Regions from separate parts of the Homo sapiens genome. Here region 1 is linked to region 2. Evidence: promoter capture Hi-C in 16 types of primary human blood cells and fetal thymus (Javierre and others, 2016). All regions are on one chromosome and are shown on one strand. The core of a region is centred on a gene start or on the middle of the fragment in contact, and the rest is flanking DNA. Distances in the headings are between cores, read along the strand shown.

Region 1 (6,242 bases), core at 3,114-5,613, 790 kb after region 2:
CAGGTCTCATTCTGTTGCCTAGGCTGTAGTGCAGTGGCATCATCACAGCTCATTGCAGTCTCCACCTCCTAGGCTCAGGTGATCCTCCTACTTGAGCCTCTAGAGTAGCTGGGACTACAGGTCTCGAACTCCTGGGCTCATGTGATTCTCCTGTCTTGGCATCCCAAAATGCTAGGATTACAGGCATGTGCCACGGTGCCTGGCCTTTACAAATATTCTTGTGTGGCACCTACATTTGCCTAATATTAGATTTATAAGTAATCCTGCTTATCTGCCTTATTAAACTGTAAACTTCCTGAGGGCAAGAACAGAATATTGCTCATTTTTGTATCCACTATCAATAACCAATCCAATGTCTCACAAACAAACTGTATATAATATATATTAAGTTGAACTGGTGCAACTGGAAATAAAACATTCTGCACAGAAGGGGACTCAAAAACAAAATCAGTATTCCTTTTCAGTGCTAACTTTCAGGGTCCAGTGACATTATAGACGTAATACCTTTTCATAAAAAGACTGTTAAAATATCTTTATAGTTCAAACTAGTGTTTAGCTTCAGACTCACAATAATAACATTCTAAACCTCTGTTCATTTTGTATTTACTGCATACAGTGGAATGTAAGTAAGACTCAACTCTTGGGTGGTGTAACAGTCAGAAAGATCCTAATCCTAGAGGGCTCTCAGGCTTGATGGGAGGAGTCAGGGAACTCCAAAGACACAGGAGCAACATGGTCATGTTTTTCCCCTATACTTCACCAGAAGGAAACAGGCAAGAAATCTAAGGCTTAGCAACCGAGAATGAAATGACCACCACTGCAGAGTTCTTCCTTTTGCTTATACCTGTCCTTTTCTGAGTCACTACATTTGGAAAAGTAGCAGCTACAGGATTTTTTTTTTTAATTTATTAATGAACTTATACCCAGCTCCATTCTGTTAATAAGAATATTTGAGGCCAAATAATTTTTTAAAGTTATTTCTGGTGTTATTCTTTGCTGTACTACAATAGGTACAAACACCATATCACCTAAACTCAGGAAAACAGGCTGCAGATCCACGGAACAACTCACCTTATTTACAAGGGTATATAGGGCTTTGTCTTGTGCATCATATTTTAGACACTGCCTAATCCAGGTGTGGATAGTCCAGTTTCTCAGGTACCAGCAGTTGGGGCTGTGTCGAAACCTAAATAAGCACAAGAAGAGAGAAAACTGGTGTTAACTCTTATATGTTAAAACACATCTTCCATCGATAGGTCCTTCTCTTAGATACTTACAGAGTGCAATGTGACAGAAATTCATAAAAGTCAACAGTTGATAAAAACTTGAGAATGAAACTTATTAACCACAAAGTCTGAAATGGTAAAGAGAAGGCAAACTAATAAATAACAAAAAATTTTACAAAAATTGTATTCCTTATACCCCTTACTTCAACAGTTCATTTTAATAGATTTATGAAAAATGATTTGGGAAAAATACTCTACTAATCATGGCATTATGTAAACAGATATTTCATTAGAAGAGACGTGAAGCTTAAGCTGAAACTTTGGAAGTTTAAAACAAATGAAGAAAATGAAAAATAGGATAGCACAGCAACTCTGTAGAGGAGAATCAGCTTTGAGTAACAGTGATACTTCCTGTGGCTCTTAGGAGAGACTGGGACACTCTTCACTGAGTCAAAGGAAAACAGAGGAAAAGAAATAAAAGTTGAGTAAAATTTAACATTCATGTCCTCCAAGATCCACAATCCCACACTGCCTTCTTCACAGTTCCATTGTAGCTCATCAGTTTATCCCTTACTTCCTATAGCTCCCCACAGGGTCTTAAAAGTCTGAAGCAGCCCAGGATGAGTTATATACAGTAATAGTATACCTACAAAGGAACAGTGCTTGGAAAGGAATTCCAAATGCTGCTTTTTCCTTAGTTCACGCACATTGCTAACACCTGGGATGGAAGCTGCTACTCCCGGTTCCTGGGGTTCATGACAAAAGACTGACTGGAGATTGAGCTGCGAGATGGGGGTGGAAAGGGCTCTGTAGTCCCTCTTTTTATTTATCTACTTTGATTAGGATGGACCCTCATATGCTATACTATATCATGTTAGCTGAAATCCCTATGTTTTCCTGAATCATTCAGGAAGCAGGCCAATCGCTGGGCTCCACAAAAATCAAACTCTTTTTCTTAAAAAGAAAAAGGTGAGACAAAAACCTAGTGCTAAAGGATTCCATGCTATATTTGAGAGTCGAGGGTACAGATGAATACTAGTGGCTTTTAGAGGCTGATTATTCAGTCTGCCTCCTGCTATTTCTTGCCATCTGCTATTGGGATAGTTTCCTCTGAACAGGTTCTCTGCCAAAGTAATGGTTAAGAAAAGGAGAGGAAGTGAGAAATAGTATTTAATTTAGGATATCTATTAGTGCTCTGGTGAGAGATTTGGCAAAAATAAGATCCAAAGATGTTTTATGGATTTAGGGTCTTCTAGGCAGCCTGATTCTCTTCAATATTTTAGGTTTTGCTAGAAAATGTCTCTCTCACTCTATTTTTCTCTACAAATTAGCCCCTTTAAAATCAGAAATAGAGAAATATGTCAAATTAGGTTTAGAATAAGAGTGACGTGGCCAGAGAAAGGCATGGTATAGGGGACCTAGATACTCAATCTTATAAGATCTTCTGCACAGAAATGAAACAAAATATACCTTTAGTATTCCATGTTTTCCCTCATATTTGTTTTTATTTTTTTATTTTTATTTTTTGAGACAGGGTCTCACTGTCACCCAGGATGGAGTGCAGTGGTGCAATCCTAGCTCACTATAACCTCAAACTAACTCCTAGGCTCAAGCAATCCTTCCTCCTAAGCCTCTCGAGTAGCTGGGAGTATAGGTGCATGCCACTATGCTCAGCTTATTTTTTGTAGAAACAGGATCTCGCTGTGTTGCCCAGGCAACATTTTCAAATCAATAGTTTAGCTACTTGATTCTTGTTTCTCTGAACAATCTGAGATTTAACATGAAATGACCAATTAAAAATGAGTTTTATTTTTTAAAGAAAAAAGTCAAGTGAAGTATCAGGTGTACTGCTTCAACGATGGTGATGCTTCCTCATCAGCCTGTAAGTTCCTGTGTCAGCAGAGACAGAGACTGACTTGCTCAATACTGATTCCTGTACTGACACAATTCTTGGCCCATAGGTTTTTCAGCTAATTAAAAAAAGAGCTTTAATCAACACTGGTATTAAATGCTGTTATGTCCCGATCATTCTGTTAATGTCTATGGTATATATGAAGATATGTAAATTTCCTTTTCAGGGCATTTAGAGTCTCATTACAAAAACGATGCACACATAATTTAATAATAATACGAGGTGGAGCATGATAAGTGCTAAAGACAAAAGGGATTGCTAGAGGCTGAAGGGTTTTTGGTAGTAGCAGTTGTTGGGTTTAGTCAATTTTTCCTTTAAAAAGAAACAAAACGAAATATAATTATTTTTTGGTAATGACTTTGGGAAAAAAATATATCAAATGCCAATTACTACCCTCACTCAAGATTATTTTAAACCTAATACTCATTTTAAATCTAAGGTTCTGGCTCAGGATGTTTCCAATGGCCACTAAAGTTGTAACTTTTTTTTGATGATGAACTTTACAATAAGAATACCATGACCATATCCAACCAAACACCTTTCTCTTATTCATGATCAGCAGACCACTTTTAGGCTTTGAAAAAATAACAAAGACTGATAATGAGAGCCTAGTTTCAGACCTTCAAAGCTCAAATTAAAACATATTTAAAGCCATTTGCTAAGCTTCTAAGGCTAACTTCAACACAAGGAAGAGCAAGAAAGTCTTTTCTTCTCAAAAACCCTTCCTTCACAGACTTTCTCTCTTAGAAGCCTAAAGGGAAAGTTACTCAAGACTTCACACATCGAATACAATCATCTCTGCACAGCAGCCTTTTGAGATATTTGTCAAGACACTCAGAGAAGTCTTTAATAAGTCTACTCCCTCTCCTATCCTGGGACAAGGCTACTTGGTATGAGCTCTGCTCTCTAAGCCCTAACAATCTTAGACCCAATTATGTCTAGGGCATTTTCTTTTTTATTGTATATACATTTTGAGAGACAAAGTCTCATTCTGTCATCCAGGCTGGAGTGCAACTGCAAGATCACAGCTCACTGCAGCCTTGAACTCTTGGACTCAAGTGATCCTCCTGCCTTTGCCTCCTTCTTTATTTCTGTAGAGACAGGGTCTTGCTATGTTGTTCAGGCTGGTCTCAAACTCCTGGCCTCAAGTGATCCTCCCACCTCGGCTTCCTAAAGAGCTGGGATTATAGGCATGAGCCACTGTGCCCAGCCTTGGACATTTTCAATGAACTCTCACAAAAAATAAACTGAGGAAAAGCAGTGAAATACTTACACACATACTATAAAATATGCTGCCCAAAATGCAATTCCTGAATTTCCCAGCCAGGAAGCAAATGAACTCCTTTCTTGGCCCCCATCAGCATTAAAAAGATAAACTTACGTGAGTGGCTATCTGGAATATAAACAAGTCAAAACACTGGGCCAGCGGGGTTCAATTTTGGATGGCAAGTTTGAGAAGAATTCCTGTTGGTGACTTTTTAAGCAGTTCAGACAAATAAATGTGGGGACTTTTCAACTTCCAGTAGTAATATGTCAGGTGAGTGAGTCTCTGGAATGGGCACTTGCCTGGAATAATTCTGTGGATTGCTGGATGAGCATTCTCCCTTTCTGTCAGAAGAAAGGCAAAGAGAAAAGAATACAACTAACACATTGATTTTCCAATTTGCCTGCAAACAGACTGGCTTTTGTTCTCGCCTGCTCTGACCACCAGCCTGGCAGATTACAGCCAGCCACTGTAGGAGTCCCCTCTGTGCGCCTATGCCATCAGCTGTTTGCTCACCTCGACAGAAGCTTTATTATTGCCTAGGCCAACAGGCTGTCAAGATAGGCAAACATGTGAGTGTAGAAAAGAGAAACAAATACAACCCAAATATCCCCAACAAGGTTGTGCTCATGAAGGCTAAAGGTACTCTGAGATTTCAGCTTATAAAATGTGATTACACTTACAATTCTGAGGAAATGTGTATTTCTTGGAGGAGCATAAGAAAGAGTGACAAAGTGTACTCTCAAGTTCTAGCTCTAGTTCTAAAAGTTGGTATCCCATGGCTAAAGAGATCTCTGTCCCCAGTGTTGAGTAGGATTTTCAGGTGAAGACAGAGCTTGCCTAGGAAGCCAAACCACGGCCAATAAAATAGCAGGAACTGAGAAGCATCCTATTCTCAAAACTCAGGCCATACTCAGAACTCTTAAGGGCATCTGCCTGCACTGCTGCTCATTCAAGACTGATGTTACCAGGAAAGAAGGAGAGCAGAATCACAGGCTGCCAAAATGACATGGGAGTGAAAGTCTTGGATATCACAGAGATTTCTTAGAAGGGAAGAGAGGTTATATAAAAGAGATCAAGAGTGAAAAAAAAAAAAAAAACACCACAGACTGACTGTGATTATATAGGAGGTACTCTATTGTGTGTAAAAGTCGCATGGGATTTCTTGTTTGACCAATTTCGTCATTTAATTAAAAAAAAAAAGTGGCCTAGGCACAGTAGCTCATGCCTGTAATCCCAGCACTTTTGGTGGGTAAAGTAGGAGGATGTCTTGAGGCCAGGAGTTTGAGACCAGTCTAGGCAACACAGCGAGACCCCGTCTACACACACACACACACACACACACACACACACACACACACACTCACGGCACTCATAGCACACATACACACCAAAAATAGGGGGGAAAAAAAAGGAAAATATAGCCTTTCTTCCACGGGGTTGAAATAAAGGTTTTGTTATTGTTGAACGGCTAAAGTGGCAATGCTCATCAGCATTTTCGGTCTCACAAATAAAAATGCTCCAGGCTGGGCAGGCCCAATGCACAGATGCCAGAGCCTAGAGCCCAGCAGCTCACAGCTCCACCATTTAGCTGTAACACACTGGTTCTTCCACATGAATGAGCAAGCTTTCCACAATGTTTATCCGATTCCGAGAGCCACCAGCCCTAAACACACACATGCAGCTTTCCCTCCGCCCCAGTGAATTCTGTATCCTGTGGCAACAGGCTTTACAGATGGGAACCTCAGCCACGGAGCTGGGTAGACAGAGATGGGAGAGGGGGTCAGGGTAAAGGGAGGAAAGAAAGAATGCCAAGAAGAAAATATGGCTGGCTTCAAAG
Region 2 (6,563 bases), core at 995-3,494:
AGTGCTGTGGTGTGATCTTGGCTCACTGCAACTTCCGCCTCCTGGGCTCAAGCAATCCTCCAACCTCAGCCTCCTGAGTAGCTGGGATTACAGGCAGAAGCCACCATGCTCAGCTAATTTTTGTAATTTTGGTAGAGATGAGGTTTCACCATGTTGGCTAGGCTGGTCTTAAACTCCTAGGCTCAAGTGATTCGCCTGCCTCAACCTCCCAAAGTGCTGGGATTACAGGCACGAGCTGTGCCTGGCCTCCAGACCTTCATTTTCTTCATAGTCTTAGAGATATATGTTTTCTCTTCTCTGCTTTCAGTCTTGCCTTCCTACTCTCAAAAGCACTTGCCTCTTTTTTGTTCTCCCTTTAGGTGATCAATTTCTTCAGTCAGTTCAGAATTTTATTCCTTTGACCTTTTGTTATTAATGTATCACCATATTCTTGTAGGATTTTCTTTTCCTTCTAAGAAGAAAGTCAGGCCTTTGTGTTCCCATGAGTCAGGGGATTTGTATCACTGGTTCAAACATTGGCCCAATACCTCCAAGGCCAACCTCAGCTCTGGCTATTTTTCCTCTCATCATAGAGGACTTCCCTAGCCACTCTACTGCCAGCCTCCCTCCCATTACTTTCTATCACATCATCCTGTACATTTCTCTCTTTTTTTTCTTCTTATTATTAAATTTTTGTTTTAAGGACAAGGTTTCACTTTGTCACCCATGCTGGAGGGCAGTGGCACTATCATAGCTCACTGCAGCCTGGACCTCCTGCCTCAGCCTTCCAGGTAGCTGGAGCTAGAGGTGGGAGCCATCACAGCCACCGCATGTAGGTAATTTGTTTTAGGGGTCTCAATATTTTGAGCAGGTTGGTCTGGAAGTCTTGGGCTCAAGAGATCCTCCCACTTCAGTCTCCACAGTAGCTGGGATTATAGGCGTGCCTCGCCATACCCGGCATTCAACCCTTAAATTTATTTCATGACATTTGATATACTTTATTTTATTGCAATTAATTAATTAATTCATTTATTTTAAGACAGAGTCTCACTCATTCTGTTGCCTAGGCTAGAGTGCAGTGGTGCCATCTTGGCTCCCGGCAGCCTCCACCTCCAGGGTTCAAGCCATTCTCCTGTCTCAGCCTCCCATAGCTGGGATTACAGGCTTGCACCACCAGGCCTGGCTCATTTTTGTATTTTTAGTAGAGATGGAGTTTAACCATGTTGGCCAGGCTGGTCTCGAACTCCTGACCTCAAGCAATCTGCCTTGCCTTAGCCTCCTAAAATGCTGGGATTACAGGCATGAGGCACCCACGCCGGGCCTGATACATTTTAAAAATATCTTGTTCATTTCTTTTTTGTATTTTCTCCTCCCAAATCCAGAACGTCTTGTTTACTGCTACCTCCTGAAGCAGATTAAGAACACTCACAATAATTTACAAGGTTTCAACTATAATAATTTTTAAACAGGCTGGAGTGTAGTGGTACGATCTCGGGTGATACATTCATATTAAAAAGTACACAAGGAGGTTGGGCGTGGTGGCTCACGTCTGTAATCCCAGCACTTTGGGAGGCCAAATGGGTGGCTCGCTTGAGCCTAGGAGTTCAAGATCAGCCTAAGCAACATGATGAACCCCGTCTCTACTAAATATACGAGAAAAAAAAAATTAGCCGGGTGTCGTGGCGCGTGCCTGTGGTCCCAGCAACTTGGGAGGCTGTGACGGGAGGATCGCCTGAGCCCGAGAGGTGGAGGCTGCAGTGAGCCAAGATCGCGCAACTGCACACTCCAGCCTAGGCGACAGAGCAAGACCCTGTCTCAAAGGACAAAAACAAAAAAGTACACAAAGGCGTACGGTAAATGGTCTTCCTACCACGACGTGTTTTCCAGAAACACATTCCTCTCCTGGGAGGTAACTATTATCAGTTTCTTCACACCAGCATTTTTAATCTATGTCTACTCAATTTAGAATTTCTAAACCCTTCAGGATCTTCAAAAGACAAAATCGGCCAGCGATTTTAATAGTTCCAGTAAAGGTTTGAGCAGAGAAGTGGACTTTCTTCTGTTCCTCTTTTCAACTACTCCTAAGGACTCCTGGAGAAGAAAGAGCAAATATCTCTGCATCTCAATTTCTGGTCCGCAGGTAACCCAGTCTCAGTAGCTTGGTAGTTACCATGGCTCCCAGTGCTGTGCGTCTGACGTCATTCTGCGGCGCTGGCTGATGGCGCAATCAGTTGCGGCGTCCTGTGAGCGCGGGGATGCTGGGAGGAGGGTGAAATTTAGCCATCGGTGTGTGGCAGGGTCATGAAAAAGCGGCGGCGGCGGGAGAGAGGAGGAGGCGGCGGCGGGGCAGTGAAACTACGGTAGCTGCCCCCTGAGCTGGTGGTGTGGCTTTGTGGGGAGGGCGTAGTTCCTAATCCCCTTTCCGGGCAGCCGCCGGGGCTCGGGGCTGTGAGCGGCCGTGAGGCTGCCTCCCCGGGCCCCCTGCCTCCGCCATGTTCCGCAGGGCACGCCTTAGCGTGAAGCCGAATGTCAGGCCTGGTGTAGGCGCCAGGGGCTCCACAGCTTCCAATCCCCAGCGTGGACGGGAGTCTCCCAGGCCGCCGGATCCTGCCACGGACTCTGCTTCCAAGCCCGCGGAGCCCACAGATGTGCCCACAGTCGATTTCGGTGGAGCGGAGCCCCAAGAAAAGGCTCCTAGGAGCAGGTAAGAGGTTGCAGAGGGAAGAATTTTCATTTGTCCCGCCTCTCCGGGCATGTCACCTGGAAGCTGAGCAAATGAATTTTATCACAGGAGTCCGCTCTCGTTTGCAGTAAGCCTTTCAGTTGAGGCTTGATGAAACCACTCCAAACTGCAGTTTAGTTGTCTGACCTGCAGGGTGTGGCTTGTGTGGATTTTGTCACGGTCTATAGATTCTCCGAGAGGAGACCATGTCTTCAAGTGGTGGTAGGGAGAATCGGGGTATGGCAGTCCTGAAGTGAAGAATATCCACACTATTCATTTGAGAATTTAGGTCACTATAGTTTTCATCCTTCTGGAGTGCTTTGCAGGGAAGTGTTTTTGTCTTTCAATTTATAAAATATTTATTTTTTAAAGGAGAAGATAAGTATTGCTTTGGCTTTACCGATTTATGTCAGTGAGTAAGAGTTCTGGTCACTTAATTGAAGTGTGCCTCTTTAACTATGGTGACCGTGTTTCCTGAATAGAGAAGCATGGCTTTAGCGTCATGTATCATATTTGGATTCAGGACTCTTTTAGTCTACAGGTAAACTTTTCTCAGGCAGAATTTGCTCATCTGCAAAATGGGAATAATATTGCCTACTTGGAGCGTTTTGGTGCAGATTGGAGATAATTCATATTAACTACCTTGCAGGGGATATAGCAGAATAGTTGCCCGCAAAAAGTTACTAGTTTTTTAGAAAGGTGATGGAGTAAATTTAAGACATGTTAGGCTAAGATGGTCTCTGTTTCTATATATATGAGGAAATCAGTAAACAGCCTTGTTAAGTGAAGTGAGATAGTACAAATTCTGTTTATGCTGTGATAGGAAGGTGAAACATTTATTTATTTTTGGAACATCTTCCTCTATTGGCCTGAACTGGTGCTGAGTGTATGGTGTTACGTTGATAGTTCAGTGATGGTTAGTAATTTCCAAGTTTATTACATGAATCTGTTTCAAAATTTCTACACAGAAAGGAGATACCGATACTAGTCGCTGTTACATTAATAAAGTTCTCAGAGATTTCGTTAATTATGTGTGAGTGCGTGATGGTTGATAATTTAATAAATTGCCCAAAGATTGTAGTTTTGAGATATTTATGGTCAAGGATATTTAATTTTTTTTTTTGAGTTGACATTTACGTTTGGGGAATATAATTTGTTTTTTAGTCACTTTTTTTGCCATTACTGACTCTGGGAAAGTGGTTTTTTTTTTTTTTTTTAATTAGTTTTTTTTTTAGATGGAGTCTTGCTCTGTCGCCCAGGCTGAAGTGCAGTGGTACGGCTCACTGCAACCTCCACCTCCCGGGTTCTTGCAATTCTCCTGTCTCAGGCTCCCAAGTATCTGGGACTACAGGCGTGCCCCACCACGCCCAACTAATTTTTGTATTTTCAGTAGAGACAGGGTTTCACCATGTTGGCCAGGCTGGACTCGAACTCCTGACCTCAAGTGATCCACCTGCCTCAGCCCAAAGTGCTGGGGTTACAGGTGTGAGCCACCGTGCCCAGCCTCTTTTTATTTTTTTGTGGGTCTTTGCTAGTTGTAAAACTCTATAGGATATATATTCTGTCATTATGCATTCAACATAATTGGGTGAAATGCAGATAATGCATGTATCCATAACAGCTAAGATACGAATTTAAATTGAAGTCTTCCTGGAAAGGTTATTCTATAAGTTAAGGCATTTTCTAATTTTTTATAAGTAATTATAAAATAGGAAAAAAGTAGACTGTTTTTAATTATTGACTTATACCACCTCTTTTCTTGACTTAAGTTGCATTTATAGACCATTCCTGAAATACTTATATCTGAGGTATACCATACCTAATATGCAATTTGGGGTGACTGAGTACTTTTTTTGACTGAAGTTTATTCTGATGGCTGTATAAGTAGAGTTGTACCTGACAAAAGATAAATGATTTCTGCCTCAAAGGGAATTGGGTTTGGCTACTGTAACTAAATGTTTTTCTTCAAATACTGCAATACAGATATTTCAGAGGTTTGGAGTTTTGCATATTTGATTTGACTGACCTCGGGTTGATAAGTAAAGTAAAATGCCGGTAGTTTAGACCAGTTTAAAATGTCAGAGTGAATTAAAATTTTTTTAAATTTTATATAGAAATTAATTATAAATTATTACTTTGTTACTTAGTAATTCAAATTAGGTTGACTAAGCTTTGTTCTGTAAGTTGGTTATTTGTTTTGAGGGGGGTAAGCCTATAATTATGTGCTGTAATGTGCCTAGGGACTTTATGTTTGAAAAAGATTAAGAGTCTATTAGAATTTACGTATATTTAAAAGATTTACTAAACAAATTTTTTTGTAACCTGTCATAATTATCATAAATCTCAAGTTACTAATTTTTTTTTTTTAATTACGAGATTGCAGTTTTGGATTTTCACCAGACTAGGTTTTAAAACTAGCATGTGTAACAGAAGATTCATGTGCCCTCTTTTTTCTTTTTTAATTTCAACAGTACTGAAAAGACTGGTGGTGACAATGATGTTGAAGAATCCAGTAGATCTTCCTCTACTGTTTCACAGAGAAGAAAGCGAATATCAAGTACTTCTAGCCTGGTTAAGTCTAGTGTCAGTGTTCCTTCAGAATCTCATCCCTTATCTACAATTAATCAAGAGGCTCCACAGCCAACTGCCACTTCAACAAAAGAGAAACAGCCATGCTCAGACAGATACCGAATATACAAAGCCCAGAAACTGAGGGAAATGTTAAAAGAAGAATTGAGAAAAGAGAAGGTAAGGGAGGAGAATCAGGATTTTGATGTTGCCTTCTATTTATGTTAGTAAGGAATCATTGGGAAGAAAAGCATTTGTAGCATTTTGATGGGGGAACAAAACCACATAACATCCCTTAGTCAATAGAACATCCCTTCTTGTTAATGGATTGATTGATACACCGTGGACTTAAATTACATTTTTCACTGATAGTAATTTTTACATTATTTATTTATGTTTTCACTGTTTTTGGTGAAGACCACAAATAAGTTTCATACGCATACACATAGATGCACATACACAAACATATTTATAAAATAAACCTTCAGTCTGATTTTTCACATAAAGATGTCCAAGTGATAAGTGATATATTTATTTGAATTAAGACAAGTATAGGCCGGGCGTGGTGGCTCATGCCTGTAATCCCAGCACTTTGGGAGGACTAGGGGGGCAGATCACTTGAGGTCAGGAGTTCAAGACCAGCCTGGCCAACATGGCAAAACCCTGTCTCTACTAAAAATACAAAAATTAGCTGGGCCTGGTGACGTGCATCTGTAATCCCAACTACTGGGGAGGCTGAGGCATGAGAATTGCTTGAACCTGGGAGGTGGAAGTTGCAGTGAGCCGAGATTGTGCCTCTGCATTCCAGCCTGGGTGATAGAGTGAAACTGTCTCCAAAAAAAAGACGAATATAGTTGAGCAGAATGAATTGGTAATGTTTTCTAAATTGACTATGGAAAATTACAAGTGGGAAAAATTTGTGTTATGCATATATTAGAGTCCATGTTCTTTTTAATCTTGAGGATTGATTTCTTTTCTAGAAGGGCAGGTAACAGCAGTAGAGCATGCTGGCCCTGGAGTTAAATACTTAGGGATTGAATCTCAGCTTCATTTCTTTACTAGCTTTGTGACCTTGGGTAATTTAATTAATCTATTTCCTCATCTGTAAAATAGACCAATAATAGTTCAGGTTGAGCATCCCTGAAATTGAAAATGCTCCAAAGTCTAAAATGTTTTGAGTGCCAAAGTGATGCTCCAGGGAAATGCTCATTGGAGCATATTGGATTTCAAATTTTCAGGTTAGAGATGCTCAGCCAGCATGTATTCTGCAAGTATTCAAAAATGTGAAAAAATC

The links. The method cuts DNA at HindIII sites, captures the fragments that hold promoters and counts their contacts. A CHiCAGO score of 5 or more calls a contact.
Region 1: a fragment that was not itself captured here is called in contact with the fragment with the promoter of BDP1 in region 2 in 1 of 17 cell types (neutrophils); the score reaches 5.7 in neutrophils.

What each region holds. Positions count from the first base shown.
Region 1 is chr5:72,236,943-72,243,184 of GRCh38, forward strand. It overlaps MRPS27 (mitochondrial ribosomal protein S27), which reads right to left. Exons shown (of 11, transcript NM_015084.3): 5 at 1,072-1,186. Among named protein-coding and RNA genes, the nearest start is that of MIR4803, 71 kb to the left of the region's middle. The HindIII fragment of the contact is 1,128 bases long and covers 3,800-4,927 here.
Region 2 is chr5:71,453,407-71,459,969 of GRCh38, forward strand. It overlaps BDP1 (BDP1 general transcription factor IIIB subunit), which reads left to right and starts at 2,245. Exons shown (of 39, transcript NM_018429.3): 1 at 2,245-2,683; 2 at 5,173-5,449. The coding sequence starts at 2,472. RefSeq lists enhancers at 1,180-2,106, 2,107-3,032. The HindIII fragment of the contact is 8,261 bases long and covers 1-4,869 here.